3 separate regions of the Homo sapiens genome follow, and regions 1 and 2 are each linked to region 3. Evidence: promoter capture Hi-C in 16 types of primary human blood cells and fetal thymus (Javierre and others, 2016). All regions are on one chromosome and are shown on one strand. Each heading gives the region's core, a stretch centred on a gene start or on the middle of the fragment in contact. The rest is flanking DNA. Distances are from core to core; before and after follow the strand shown. Region 1 has its middle 55 kb from the start of HEMK2. Region 2 holds the start of MAP3K7CL (MAP3K7 C-terminal like). Region 3 holds the start of LTN1 (listerin E3 ubiquitin protein ligase 1).

Region 1 (4,243 bases), core at 1,715-4,214, 160 kb after region 3:
TTGTCACACAGGTTGTGAGAATGGGAGAGTTAATGGTTCTTAGGTGGAACATGATGTTTAGAGAGAGTTTTAACTCTGAATACAGGAGGAGCTAGATCAGAACAATCTTCTCAATTTATATCATAATACAAGTTCTTTGTTGCAGCAGAATCCACCCTCAATTCAATGATTCATTTGTTAGTTTACTACTGCTATTAAATTTGTGTTCAAAAGAGTTAAAGTATTTCAACATTTTTGCTTCCGGCTCTTATTACTAATTATTTACATCAATGGTAATGGAGACTCTTGGAGAGGTAGAGAGAAGAACAAGAAGACTCCAGGTAACAGAGACACACTCAAGACTGCTCCTGATTGTTATTTCCTCTCTCAACCCAGCTTTGTGATTGTATCACCTTTGGCTAAAACCACATCCTGAAACATGACTGTGCCTCTTTGTACTGCCTCAAGCATATTTGCCCTACAATGTGAGATCTTTTGCCCTTTCCAGGGAAGGATACTTAAGTCCAGTCCTGATAATAAGGCAGAGTGACTCCAGGGAAAAATGCCTGGTGTCTGGGCTCTGCTCTGTTGGGTTTATGATGAAAAACTGCAAATCAAAAGCTTTATGTACAGTAATGGTGCTTTTAAAGTCTGAGAGTGCTACATAAATATACATTCCTTGTTAAAAAAATAGTTAATTCTCTTTAGCAGTTTGCTAGTATATTAACTTTCACCTCCTACAAATATGATATTTTAGTAAACAGTTATACTATATACCTTACAAAATCTGAATTAAACAGTGTTTTTTGTTTTCTGTCTTGTGTACGTATAGTAAAAATGACACAGAATACAAACAGCTATGGAACATGAGTGTGACAATACTCAGCATATAGGTATTAGGGACCCATCACTGTTTGAAAGGTGATACTGTTTCTTTCTTTCTTTCTTTCTTTCTTTCTTTCTTTCTTTCCTTCCTTCCTTCCTTCCTTCCTTCCTTCCTTCCTTCCTTCCTTCCTTCCTTCTTTCTTTCTTTCTTTCTTTCTTTCTTTCTTTCTTTCTTTCTTTCTTTCCTTCCTTCTTTCCTTCTTTCCTTCTTTCCTTCTTTCCTTCTTTCCTTCTTTCCTTCTTTCTTTCTTTCCTTCTTTCCTTCTTTCCTTCTTTCCTTCTTTCCTTCTTTCCTTCTTTCTTTCTTTCTTTCTTTCTTTCTTTCTTTCTTTCTTTCTTTCTTTCTTTCTTTCTTTCGTTCTTTTCTTTCTTTTTGAGATAGAGTCTCGCTCTGTCACCCAGGCTGGAGTACAGTGGCATGTTCTTGGCTCCCTGCAACTCTGCCTCCCAGGTTCAAGTGATTCTCCTGCCTCAGCCTCCTGAGTAGCTGGGATTACAGGCGCCCGCTACCACGCCCAGCTAATTTTTGTATTTTTAGTAGAGACGGGGGTTTCGCCATCTTGGCCAGGCTGGTCTTGAACTGCTGACCTCAAGTGATCCACCCACCTCGGCCTCCCAAAGTGCTGGGATTATAAGCATGAGCCATAGCTCCCAGCTAATACTGTTCTTTTTTGTGAGTTTTAATCACTAAGTTTCTTCTGTTTGCGTAGCTATGACACATGGCATCCCTCCTGCCCCTACAAATTGATTTCTACTCCTTTACTGAATACCAGTGGTCCTGGGCTCATAAATCTACAAAGTGGAATCCAGAAGAAATCAGAATAAAAGACAATACATATTTTAAAAAATTTTCTACAGATGGATAGAATACTAATTTTCCATTTCCTTTCTTCCTTTCACCTTCTATTCTTTCTGATACCATTCTTTTTTTTTTTTTTTTTTAAAGATGGAGTCTTGCTCTGTCACCCAGGCTGGAGTGCAGTGGCACGAACTTGGCTCACTGCAACTTCCTCCTCCTGGGTTCAAGCGATTCTCCTGCCTCAGCCTCCCAAGTAGCTGGGATTGCATGCGCCTGCCACCATGCCCGGCTAATTTTTTGTATTTTTAGTAGAGACAGTGTTTCACCATGTTAGCCAGAATGGTCTTGATCTCTTGACCTCATGATCTGCCCACCTTGGTCTCCCAAAGTGCTGGGATTACAGGCGTGAGCCACGCGCCTGGCCTCCATCCATACATTTTTTTAAAAAATAAACAACATTTTGAAGATATTGTAGAGTCTGTTCTCACACTGCTATAAAGAACTACCTGACCTGGATAATTTATGAAGAAAGAGGTTTAATTGACTCACAGTTCCATAGGCTGTACAGGAAGCATGGCTGGAAGGTCTCAGGAAACTTACCGTCATGGCAGAAGGTGAAGGGGAAGCAAGCACGTCTCACCATGGTAGAAAGAGAGAGAGAGTGAAGGGGGGGAAGTGCCACACACCTTTAAACATTTATCAGATCTCGTGAGAACTTACTATCGCAAGAGCAAGGGAGAAATCTGCCCCCATGATCCAATTACCTCCCACCAGATCCCTCCCCCAACATTGGGAATTACAGTTTGACATGAGATTTGAGTGGGGACACAGAGCCAAACCATATCAAATATTTTCTGCCGTAAGTGTCTGGATGTACCATACCCAGGGTTCTCAGTTTTAGATAACATAATTGTTATCTAATTATACAGATATAAGATATACTCTCAGCCTGGAGGACTAGTCTCTGGCAAGAATTCAGGGAGACAAAATGTGGCTAAGATCTTAGTGTAGGAAGAGCCCACCCTTCTCTGACTGGGAGCAGACAGATCTTCTCCCTCTTAGGATTCCGTATTGGGAGTTGGGACCTCTGCCTACCATCTTTCCAGGAATTTTCTCCAAATGAACAGGACATTTCATGACAGTTTGCCAAAATGAAACACGTTCATTATAATGGGTATCAATGAAATTTTCACTCTGATATGAACCACATCTTTGTTTTCCAAAGTTTTAGAAACAGAGTGTATGTTCTTGTAAACTAATTGGTCTAGGGAAAATACCTCTTTGAGAGGACATAATTAACTCTCCCTACTCAGATGTCTTAAAATCCATGGAGTTTTGTCTTAAAAAGAATTGCTGCAGCTGAGAATGGGATACTGCCTTAGTCTGTTTTGTGCAGCTGTAACAGAATACCTGAGACTGGATAATTTGTAATGAACAGAAATTTATTGGTTCATAGTTCTTTAGTTGGGAAGTCCAAGATTGAAGCACTGGTATCTATCAGGGACCTTCTTGCTGTGTCATCTCATGGTGAAAGGCATAGGATGTCAGAGGGCAAAAAGAGGATGGGAGAGAGGAAAGGTGACTGACCTTATTTTATAAGGAACCTACTTCCACACATTCATCTATTCATAAATGCAGAGCCCTCATGTTCTAATTACCTCTCATTGGAACCTACCTCCCAACAAACACTGTTGCATTAAAGGTTAAGTTTCCAACATATGCTTTCTGAGGGACACATTCAAACCTTAGCAGATACCAAGGGGCAACTCACAACTAACAAGACTTGGGTAATGGTAGATGACTAAGTGCTTACTGTGTAATTAGCAATTTCACTTGTTCTAAAGAAGCATTTCTCAAGAGACAGCTGCAGTCCATCTTCATCAAAATCGTTAAAAATGAAGATTGTTGAGGATCCCTCCAGGCCTTCAGAATTAGAAATTTTAAGAGGAGCTCTTGAAGTCAGCAATTTTTATAAATCCCCAGATGAACTTTAAACCCACTAAAGTTTGAGAAACACCAGGAATGTAAAGGAATGCAGGTCTATTAAAAATTGTTAAAGCTCTTGTTAAAATCACTCATTTTCAGCCTGTCCTCTCCCTGCTTATAATAATCACTGTATATATAGTTTTATTAAATATTGCATTTATATTTTACTAAGAAAGATGCTATTCTAAGGCTTAATGAATTAAAAAAAACAGGTTGTTGCAGCTGAGTCGGTTTCTTCACAGAGATGGATATTCGTAAAGTGTTAGGTGGCTATTTGGGTGAAAGATCAACAAGCCCACTGGAAACTTTTGGAAGGTGAGCTGGCATGGAATTTCTGGAAGAAAGGGAACATTTTCTGACAGCAGTTGGTCAATGCAGAACTTTCAGATAATGATGGATTGGCAGTCGAAGGGCTACCTAAGCTAAGTGTCACCAAAGTGCCTTTGGTCTGTTTGACCTGCTTAGTGTCTAGTAGCTTCTTAGTTTAGAAAAAACTGAAGGCTGCTTCAATTTATTTACAAATGTGTTGTTCGGAACTGGTGCCACTATTATGAGTGTTCACCTAGTAGTTCTTAGAGCCTCATTCGTATTAGA
Region 2 (4,222 bases), core at 1,105-3,604, 140 kb before region 3:
AGCCTTCACCTCTTCCTGCTACGGAATACATCCTCCACTGGAGGCTAACAGTCTAGGAAACTCCAGGTTAAATGTGTCACCTGGCATAGTAACCCCAAGCCTGCAATGGTTGTGTGACATCAGATTTCACAGAGCTCCTTACTTTGCATTATTTTGGAATGATTCTGTCCCTTTTCAATTACTACTTTTTTTAAAATAGAGATGAGGTCTGCCTGTGTTGCCCAGGGTGGTCTCAAAACTCCTGGGCTCAAGGGATCCTCCTGCCTTGGCCTCCCAAAGTACTGGGATTACAGTCGTGAGCCACCATGCTCGGCCAATCATTACTTTTTAAAGCATCATCCCTACATGGGCATTATAGCAAGAGAGAGAGAGAGAGTCCTCAAAAGACCCAAGGTTTAAATGGTAATGTTGTTTAAGCATGTGATTTTAACAGATGACATTAAACTAAGAGCAATGGCGGATGCCAGTGGAAGAGAGCCAAGCCTTCCTTTCCTCAGCACCGTGACCTCCCGCCACATGAGGTCTTTTGTTCAAAAGTGGTGCAATTCAATGTGTGTTAAGAGGTCACTGAGGGGAGCCATGACGAAGGGCTCTAAGTATGGCAGTTTCACCTCAGACCTTACTATTTAGAGAGGCTCCTCCTCACCTGTCCCATTTATCATTCCTGCTGAAGTCTGTTGATTTAGCCAGAAGTGTGGGAGCACCAGTGAGAAACCAGCATTTCTAACTTACGCTTCAGCAAATGTTGCTGTAAACGGAACAGTGATATTTTCATATTACCTAACCAACTGCCAGCTCCTAATAAAAGTTTCCTCATGCAGTTTTAACAATAACACACTTTGCTATTGTTAGAAATTGTTGTAGCTCAGTGAATTTTATTCTAAAAGAAAGCTAGAATGGGGAGGGAGGAGAAAAAAAATGAGTTTAAATGACCCGAAAACTCAAGGTGGAGGAAAGCATCACTAGAGGCATTTCTGGAAGCCGCCATCTAACAATGCATGATGAAATATCACATTCCCCATCATCAGGTCATGCAAGCATGCAACTTTAAATTTTCCACAGAGGCGTGGCATTAGAAAAGATGCTAGAAAGGTGGGGTATGAAGGAAACAATCCTTCTTCCAGAGCAGAGTATACCTGAGGCGTCATTGAGGCTAAAGGCGATGCGTACAGGCTTGTCAGCAGGTACCCTGGCTGTGCTGATCATGTGGGCACCTGAGCCTCCGCCTTCTCCTGGGTCTTCCAGCTGTGACAGCAAGAGAGAGCCATTGTCACTTTATCCAGCATCATCCCCCTAAATACTCAGAGGCCCTTGGAAATTACAGGTGAAGTTATTAAGGTTAGTAAGCATTACCTGCTTATTCTAAAGATACTCCTAGTTTTGAGCTTTTTCTATGTCAAAAGTATTCATCCGCCCCATTTAAATCTTTTTTTCTTGGCTCAAGAAAAAATTGCTTTTGCAATATACATCTAGAATGAATGAAATATGGGAAATATCTCTACCTGCCTTACTTGCTCAATATCTTTTTACACGGACCAGTTCAATCCTGCCTCTTTAAGGTCATATAAAGTATTTTACTTTCAACTGAGGAGGATAAAAAGAGATATAGTCTTAATAAGGTATCAGATGGCTTCAGATTAGACTTGCTTTTCATGTTCAAAAGCCTAAATTAAATCTGAATTATTAATCTGAGAGTGGCAAAGAATGGGTTTCATGGAATCATTTAAAGAATACCAAAAGTCGCTGGGTGTGGTGGCTCATGCCTGTAACCCCAACACTTTGGGAGGCCGAGGCAGGCAGATCCCCTGAGGTCAGAAGTTCGAGACCAGCTTGACCAACATGAGAAAACCCCATCTCTATCAAAAATTCAAAAATTAGTGGGGCATGCTAGCAGGCACCTGTAATCCCAGCTACTTGGGAAGCTGAGGCAAGAAAATCGCTTGAACCCGGGAGGCAGAGGTTGCAGTCAACCGAGATCGTACCACTGCACTCCAGCCTGGGCGACAGAGTGAGACTCTGTCTAAAATAAATAAATAAATAAAGAATACCAAAAACCACTTTAAAATATCTGTTATATGATGAATATCATATGCTTTAAATATCTGATTAACTACCTGTAAGTCTACCAAACATTTCTAAGGATGCACATCTTAACACTCTATAAAAGCAAAGACAAGACTCAAAAACATCCTATAGATATTCTACTCCAGCTATCAAATCATCATTTAATTAATTAAGGTAGAATGAATGGAAAAAAAACATCCTGCAGATAAAATGGAATGGGCAAAAACACATGAATATTTCTGGTTATAATCAGAGAACTTAGCCCAAATATATTTTAACCAAGATATTTGATAATTTGATGTCTATAGGGGACTAGGAAAAGATAGTTATAAATACATGATATCTTTCTTATTTAAAAACATATATTTAACTTTTCTATTTTTAGTCCCACCTCCCCTAAACCCTCTACTTTCCTTCTCATGTAGACAGTAAACCAAAAAACCTGAATGATATTTTAAGGGAAATAGCTCTAAAAATGGCAAAGTATAAATAATCTCTTTAGCCATCCTTAAAGAGATTCTGGGAAATGCTTTAGCAGGACATTTTCTCACAGCACGGTTTCTGACTTTTTCCCATAACTTTCCTCTATCTATCTAAAAATAGTGTCCAGAACACTGAATTTTGTTTTTAAAAGTATTTATAGAGCCAAAGCCAATGCATATATATATACATGTATATTTAGACATACATACATATGGAATCATCTTACCCAGCATATGAAAAAAGATCAGGCTTATATTAAAACCCTAGTATAGCTTTGGAGAAAAACCAGCAACTGTTTATTATCCAGTTAGAATCATAATTTGGCCCATTTATTTAGCACTACAAGTAGCAATGCACCAAAAAGCTCTCCACTGTCCATATCATGTAATTCTAAGTTAGAAAGAAATAGTGACATGAAACATTTAATTTTAAAAAAGAGTAATATAAAATATCTGTTATTTGATTCAGGATTTGTTTTATCTTAACTCTGCCACCCTTCTGTCCAGTCTTACCTGCTCAGAATCAAGCATTTTGTTAGCCACCTAGGGAATGGCATGGATTGTCTCAAATTCAACAGAAGAAACCATTAAAATTCCCTTAACATTTTAGCTAAAAAGAAAAGTTTTACTGTTATGCATTGTACAATCACCGAATCACTTTAGCATAACATCTAAGGATGGAAAGTTGCACTCCTCTTTTGGCTAAATCCCCCAACACTTTCCCGCACCAAGAAATCAAGTACAAGAGGTAGAAATTTGCCTCAAGGATTTTGTAAATAGTCCTCTGGTATGGTTTCCAGCTACAGGAAATGGAATTAATAAACACAGCTAATTAGAGTCCCTCCCCTCCGCTCAATGGAGAACATCTGTCTGCCTATGAAAGGATGGTGGCAAGACTGAGTGGACTTTGAGTTCCACACCATGTTGACCACAAATGCCCCTACACCAACTTGCCTTTTCATCACACCGTCTGGGGAAACGAACCACAGGTTCCTTCTCTTGGCTACAGGCTGTAACAGAGCTTTGGTTAAGTTGCTGCTGATCTGAGCATTTAGTTCAGTTTTCACACCTGTTGGCTTACCTCACTTAGTTGAGTGTCTGCACTTGTGTAACCCAGAGCCAGCCACTGCCTTGGCCAGTCGTTGCCTTTGTGGAGTAGAGACTCAGTGAGAGACCAGGCTGCACCTGCTGCATAGCAGCCACTGACAATCTGAGGAGCGGAGACAGCTGTCAGGGCAGCACGCTGCTACCTGCTCTGCCCCAGACCCCAGCGTCCCACGGGACCTCCCTTCCCTTCCCTTCCGCTTCCCTTCACAACCCCTCTCTCCTTTCCTTGCCTCTCTAACAGCCAGGATGTTGTCATCTTTCTAGAAAAAGCAAGAGCAAAAGAAAACCCTCCTCCTGTCAGAGGCATTGATAAACAGCAAGTTGTGGGGAGTCCAAATGTTTTAATTCATTAGTCCTGGCAAACTTAAAATACAAACAGACTTGCTTCACAAGACAGGAATGTCTTCAGCGTGACCCAATCGGTGTCTGTGTCTATTCCAGCAAACTGGCAAAGATAGCATGACTCCAGTCAGCAAAAATGTCGGCCGCTCCAATCAGCTCAGCCAGACCCAGCCAACTTGGACAGGCCACAGGCTGACTCTCAGATGATAGCAGCGAGGATCCTGGTT
Region 3 (3,905 bases), core at 176-2,675:
ACTTCAGGTGATCCACCTGCCTCGGCCTCCCACAGTGGTGGGATTACAGGCATAAGCCACTGCACCTGGCTTTTGTGTGCATTTTAAAATCAGGGTCCAGTCAGGAAAACAGAAATCACATTAGTTATTGAGAAATATTTTAATATGGGAAATTGGTCAAAAGGAATTATAAAAGGTAACAGGTAATCACTGCAGGTAGCAGCTACCATTCCTAGAGCTAGGAAAGGATGGAACAAAAGAAGTGGTTGGAGTCATCAGAACCTAAAAGCTTGAAGGAGGGCCCTGAACACCTTAGTTCAGGCCTATGAAGAATGAAGAGAGGGTGATGGCTGGCTGTTACTGGATCTCTGGAGCACAAAGAAGGGATCCCACGGTGTTGAGGCTCAAACTTCTGAGGAGGTGGCTCAAACATTGGCTATCTCAGGAGCTCAGGGGAGGGGCCGCATGAAAGTAGAATTCAGATCTCTGAGGAGAGCACTGACTGCTGCTGTGATCTCTGAGGGGTGCAATAAGGCTGATTCTGTGATTGTTGGAAAAAGGATAGAGATTAAAACCACCTTTTGGCTAAAGCAATTGCTCCTGCCACGGTAAAATGCAGCTGCTGCTGGCATGATGCTTACAGAATGGAGCAAGTCCCTTCTTCCTCTTGCCTTTGTTTCCCTCTTGTTCGTCCTGTTGGTGGAATCTAGCAGAAGCCCCCCCAGTAACATGGAGTTGAGTATAAAAGGGTGACTGCGTGGACAAGAAACAATAACCAGCACACATTTACTTGTTTCTCTGGTGTGATTCTGAGTCGCACAATCAATGGGTTACAGGATTTGTACATTTCAAATTTTAATAGGGACTCCCACATTATCCTCTTTCCTAAACTGCACGTTAACAGTTTCAATATGAATAAAAGGGGACGGGGAGGGGAGATTTAGAGAGAATAGTGCCTACAGCAGTAATCAAATTTTAACAAGACTTGGGAATACTGTCAAAATGCAGGATCTGATTCAGGAGTTCTGAGGGGCCCGAGTTGGCCTTTTCTAAAAAACGCCCAGGTGATACTGATGATTGCATCATGTTGGAAGTCTAAAACACTCCCATCTTCCCACAGCCTCTACCATAACATTCTAATGCTACCCTTATGTGAAACTGCCCCTCTGATGATTCACGCCAGTTTCCTACCCTCTAAGCAAGGAACAAACCTAGCTTCTGAAAGCGGGGAGGACAGGATTTGGCGCCACGGGTCCAATGCTTGGCTTCCTATTGGCCAGGAATGACATCACTCAGACAGGCGTGGCTTTAGCTGTGACGTCTCCGGTGGCGGATGGTCAGGGACACAGCGGGAGGCGGGAGCGGAAGTGGGGCAGCAAATGGACAGGGTGGGTGGCGGAAAAGGGCCCGGGGGAAGTTATTACAGGGTGTCCTCTTCCGCCGCCAGAAGCCGGAAGTTGTGTCCCGGACGTGTCAACCGGGGTCTGAGTGCTCAGAGTACAGCTGCAACCGCGACCATGGGCGGGAAGAACAAGCAGCGAACTAAAGGGAACCTGAGGGTGAGCGGGGGCTGGCTCGGCCGACCCGGGAGCCTCGCTTCGAGGCGGCTGGCTCCGCCCAGCGCGTTGCTGGAGGGTGTGTGGAGCGCGGCTGTAGGGAGGCGTGTGTTTCCCTGTCGAGTGTGACCTCTCTGTTGTGTGTGCGTCCCTGAGAGCGGTTTGTGTTATCTCTGAGCAGATTGGGGAATCGTGAGAGAAAAGATGTACCATGCCAGAGCTGTCCTCATCCGAGCACACACCCATAATATTCATGAAGAAATGATAATGTGTCAGGTTCACTGGAAGGTGATCTGGCCGAGGTAGCGGGTTGGTTGGGGGAGGGCGGCGCTGGGAAGAAGGAGAGTTGGGAGAATGTTAAAGTGAATCCACTGTGGAGGTTACCGCAGATTGTGCCTCTCCTTTGCTACCTACAGTGGCTTCTCCTAAGCTAAAGCTCTTAGGATGGTATATTTGGTTTCTGGACTGCCTGTTACCCCTTTCCATCTGCAGTCCCATCTTCAGCTCCCTCCTCTTGGCTTACTTCATCCAGCCACACTGATCTCTTCACTGTGCCTTGACTACCTGGCCGGCTCCCAACGCTCTTCAGTTAGGTGGCTCCAAACTTTGCTCTCGACACCTCAGTGAGGTCTCCCATGATCACCCTCTTGGTAGCCCTTCCCCACTCCCATGTTCTTCCTACTTTATTTTACTCCATTGTATTTATGACATTTATTGTCTTGGTTCACTAGGACGTAAGTATTTTGAAAGCAAATGTTTTTATCCTCGGAACCTAGAACAGACTGGCACCTAATAGACGCTCACTAAGTACTTGCTTAAGGACGACCTTAAAGTGGATTCGTGTAAAACTACACGATGAGGGGTTTTGTAATGGTATTTTTTTATGGTGTTAGATTTATTATAGCACAGTCCAATTTTATGAGAATGCTTTTTTTTCCTGTTTCTGATGTAGTTAATTCTAGTGATTTCAATGTCACATTTTCTTAGATCTGTCACTTAATCTGTTTTGGAAGATAATAACAGTATTAACAATTATAGCAACCTGTTGTGTTACTGTGCTAAGCACTTTACTTGCATCTTTTAATGTTTTTTATTTAACAGATTTTCTCAAATGTTTTATATTTGAAAAGTTCTTATGAGGAAAAGTTGCAAGAATATTAGAACGACATCCCATATACTCTTTACCTACATTTACCAATTGCTAATACTTGGTTGCATTTGCTTTCTCTCTCTTAATTTATGTATTTTTCTGAACTTATAAGAGTTAGTTGCAGAAGTCGGGACTCTTAACTCCTAAATACATCAGCATGTATCTTCTAAAAACAATGCCATTTTCTAGCCTGCAGCAATTATAATAATGGTTATAGTATGCAGAAACTTTGACTTTTGTATAATACTGTAATCCAGGATACAGCCTTGTATTTAGACTTCTGTAGTTATCCCAATAATGTTCTCTTTTTTCTTTTTTTTTTTTTTGTAAGACAGGGTCGCTCTGTCTCCAAACCTGGAGTGTGGTGGTATGATCATGGCCCACTGCAGTGTCAACCTCTTGGGCTCAAGCGGTCAGTCCTCCCACCTCAGCCTCCTTAGTAGCTAGGACTCCTGGCTAATCTTTTTTTTTTTTTTTTCGGGGACAGAGTCTGGCTCTGTTACCCAGGCTGGAGTGCAGAGGCGTGAACTTGGCTCACTGCAATCTCCGCCTCTCGGGTTCAAGTGATCCTCCCAGCTTAGCCTTTCCAGTAGCTAGGACTACAGGTACAGGCCATCACGGCTAGCTTATTTTTGTAGGGACAGAGTTTTGCCATGTTGCCCAGGCTGGGACTTTTTTAAAAAGATAAACCGTTTTAACATCTGAGATTCAGTCAAGGATCACTCATTCCATTTAGTTACCATTTGGGTTTCTTTGATCTAGACAGTTTCTCAGTACTGTTTAAGCGGGGAGAGGAGTGTCTTTTTTAACAAAATTTGGAAGAGCCTGGGCCATTTGTTTGATTAATTCAGATTCATCTAGTTTTTTCCTTATGATTAGATTCAGGCTAAACAATTTTTAGAAGGAATTCTTCATAGATGATGAGTCTTTCTCAGTGCATCACACACCAGGGGCACTTCGCACCTGTTTGTCCCCTTATTGGTGGTATTTGTTTAATTACTTGGTTAAGGTGTTGTTCATTATAAAGTTATATTTTTCCATTGGCCAATAACAAATAATATGTTAGTTTGAAACTGTGAATGTCCTGCTCTTCCACAAACTTTCACCTAATGGTTTGAGCACCCTTTGATTCTTGCTGGAATCAGTTATTACTATGGTGATTTAAAAACTTATGCTTAATCATGAAAACAACCCAACTAATGAATTAATTACTCATATCT

The links. The method cuts DNA at HindIII sites, captures the fragments that hold promoters and counts their contacts. A CHiCAGO score of 5 or more calls a contact.
Region 1: a fragment that was not itself captured here is called in contact with the fragment with the promoter of LTN1 in region 3 in 1 of 17 cell types (non-activated CD4 T cells); the score reaches 5.2 in non-activated CD4 T cells.
Region 2: a contact is called between a fragment that was not itself captured here and the fragment with the promoter of LTN1 in region 3, in 1 of 17 cell types (neutrophils). The highest score is 6.2, in neutrophils.

What each region holds. Positions count from the first base shown.
Region 1 is chr21:28,828,441-28,832,683 of GRCh38, reverse strand. It overlaps a transcript of HEMK2 not described here. Among named protein-coding and RNA genes, the nearest start is that of HEMK2, 55 kb to the left of the region's middle. The HindIII fragment of the contact is 4,724 bases long and covers 603-4,243 here.
Region 2 is chr21:29,130,329-29,134,550 of GRCh38, reverse strand. MAP3K7CL (MAP3K7 C-terminal like) reads right to left here and starts at 3,907. Exons shown (of 5, transcript NM_001286620.2): 1 at 3,628-3,907; 2 at 1,137-1,245. The coding sequence starts at 1,206. RefSeq lists an enhancer at 264-810. The HindIII fragment of the contact is 6,543 bases long and covers 1-4,222 here.
Region 3 is chr21:28,990,397-28,994,301 of GRCh38, reverse strand. It overlaps LTN1 (listerin E3 ubiquitin protein ligase 1), which reads left to right and starts at 1,425. Exons shown (of 30, transcript NM_015565.3): 1 at 1,425-1,538. The coding sequence starts at 1,497. It overlaps LOC105372766 (a long non-coding RNA gene), which reads right to left and starts at 1,199. Exons shown (of 3, transcript XR_007067835.1): 1 at 1,171-1,199; 2 at 621-732; 3 at 121-520. RefSeq lists enhancers at 1,141-1,200, 1,511-1,620. The HindIII fragment of the contact is 7,723 bases long and covers 271-3,905 here.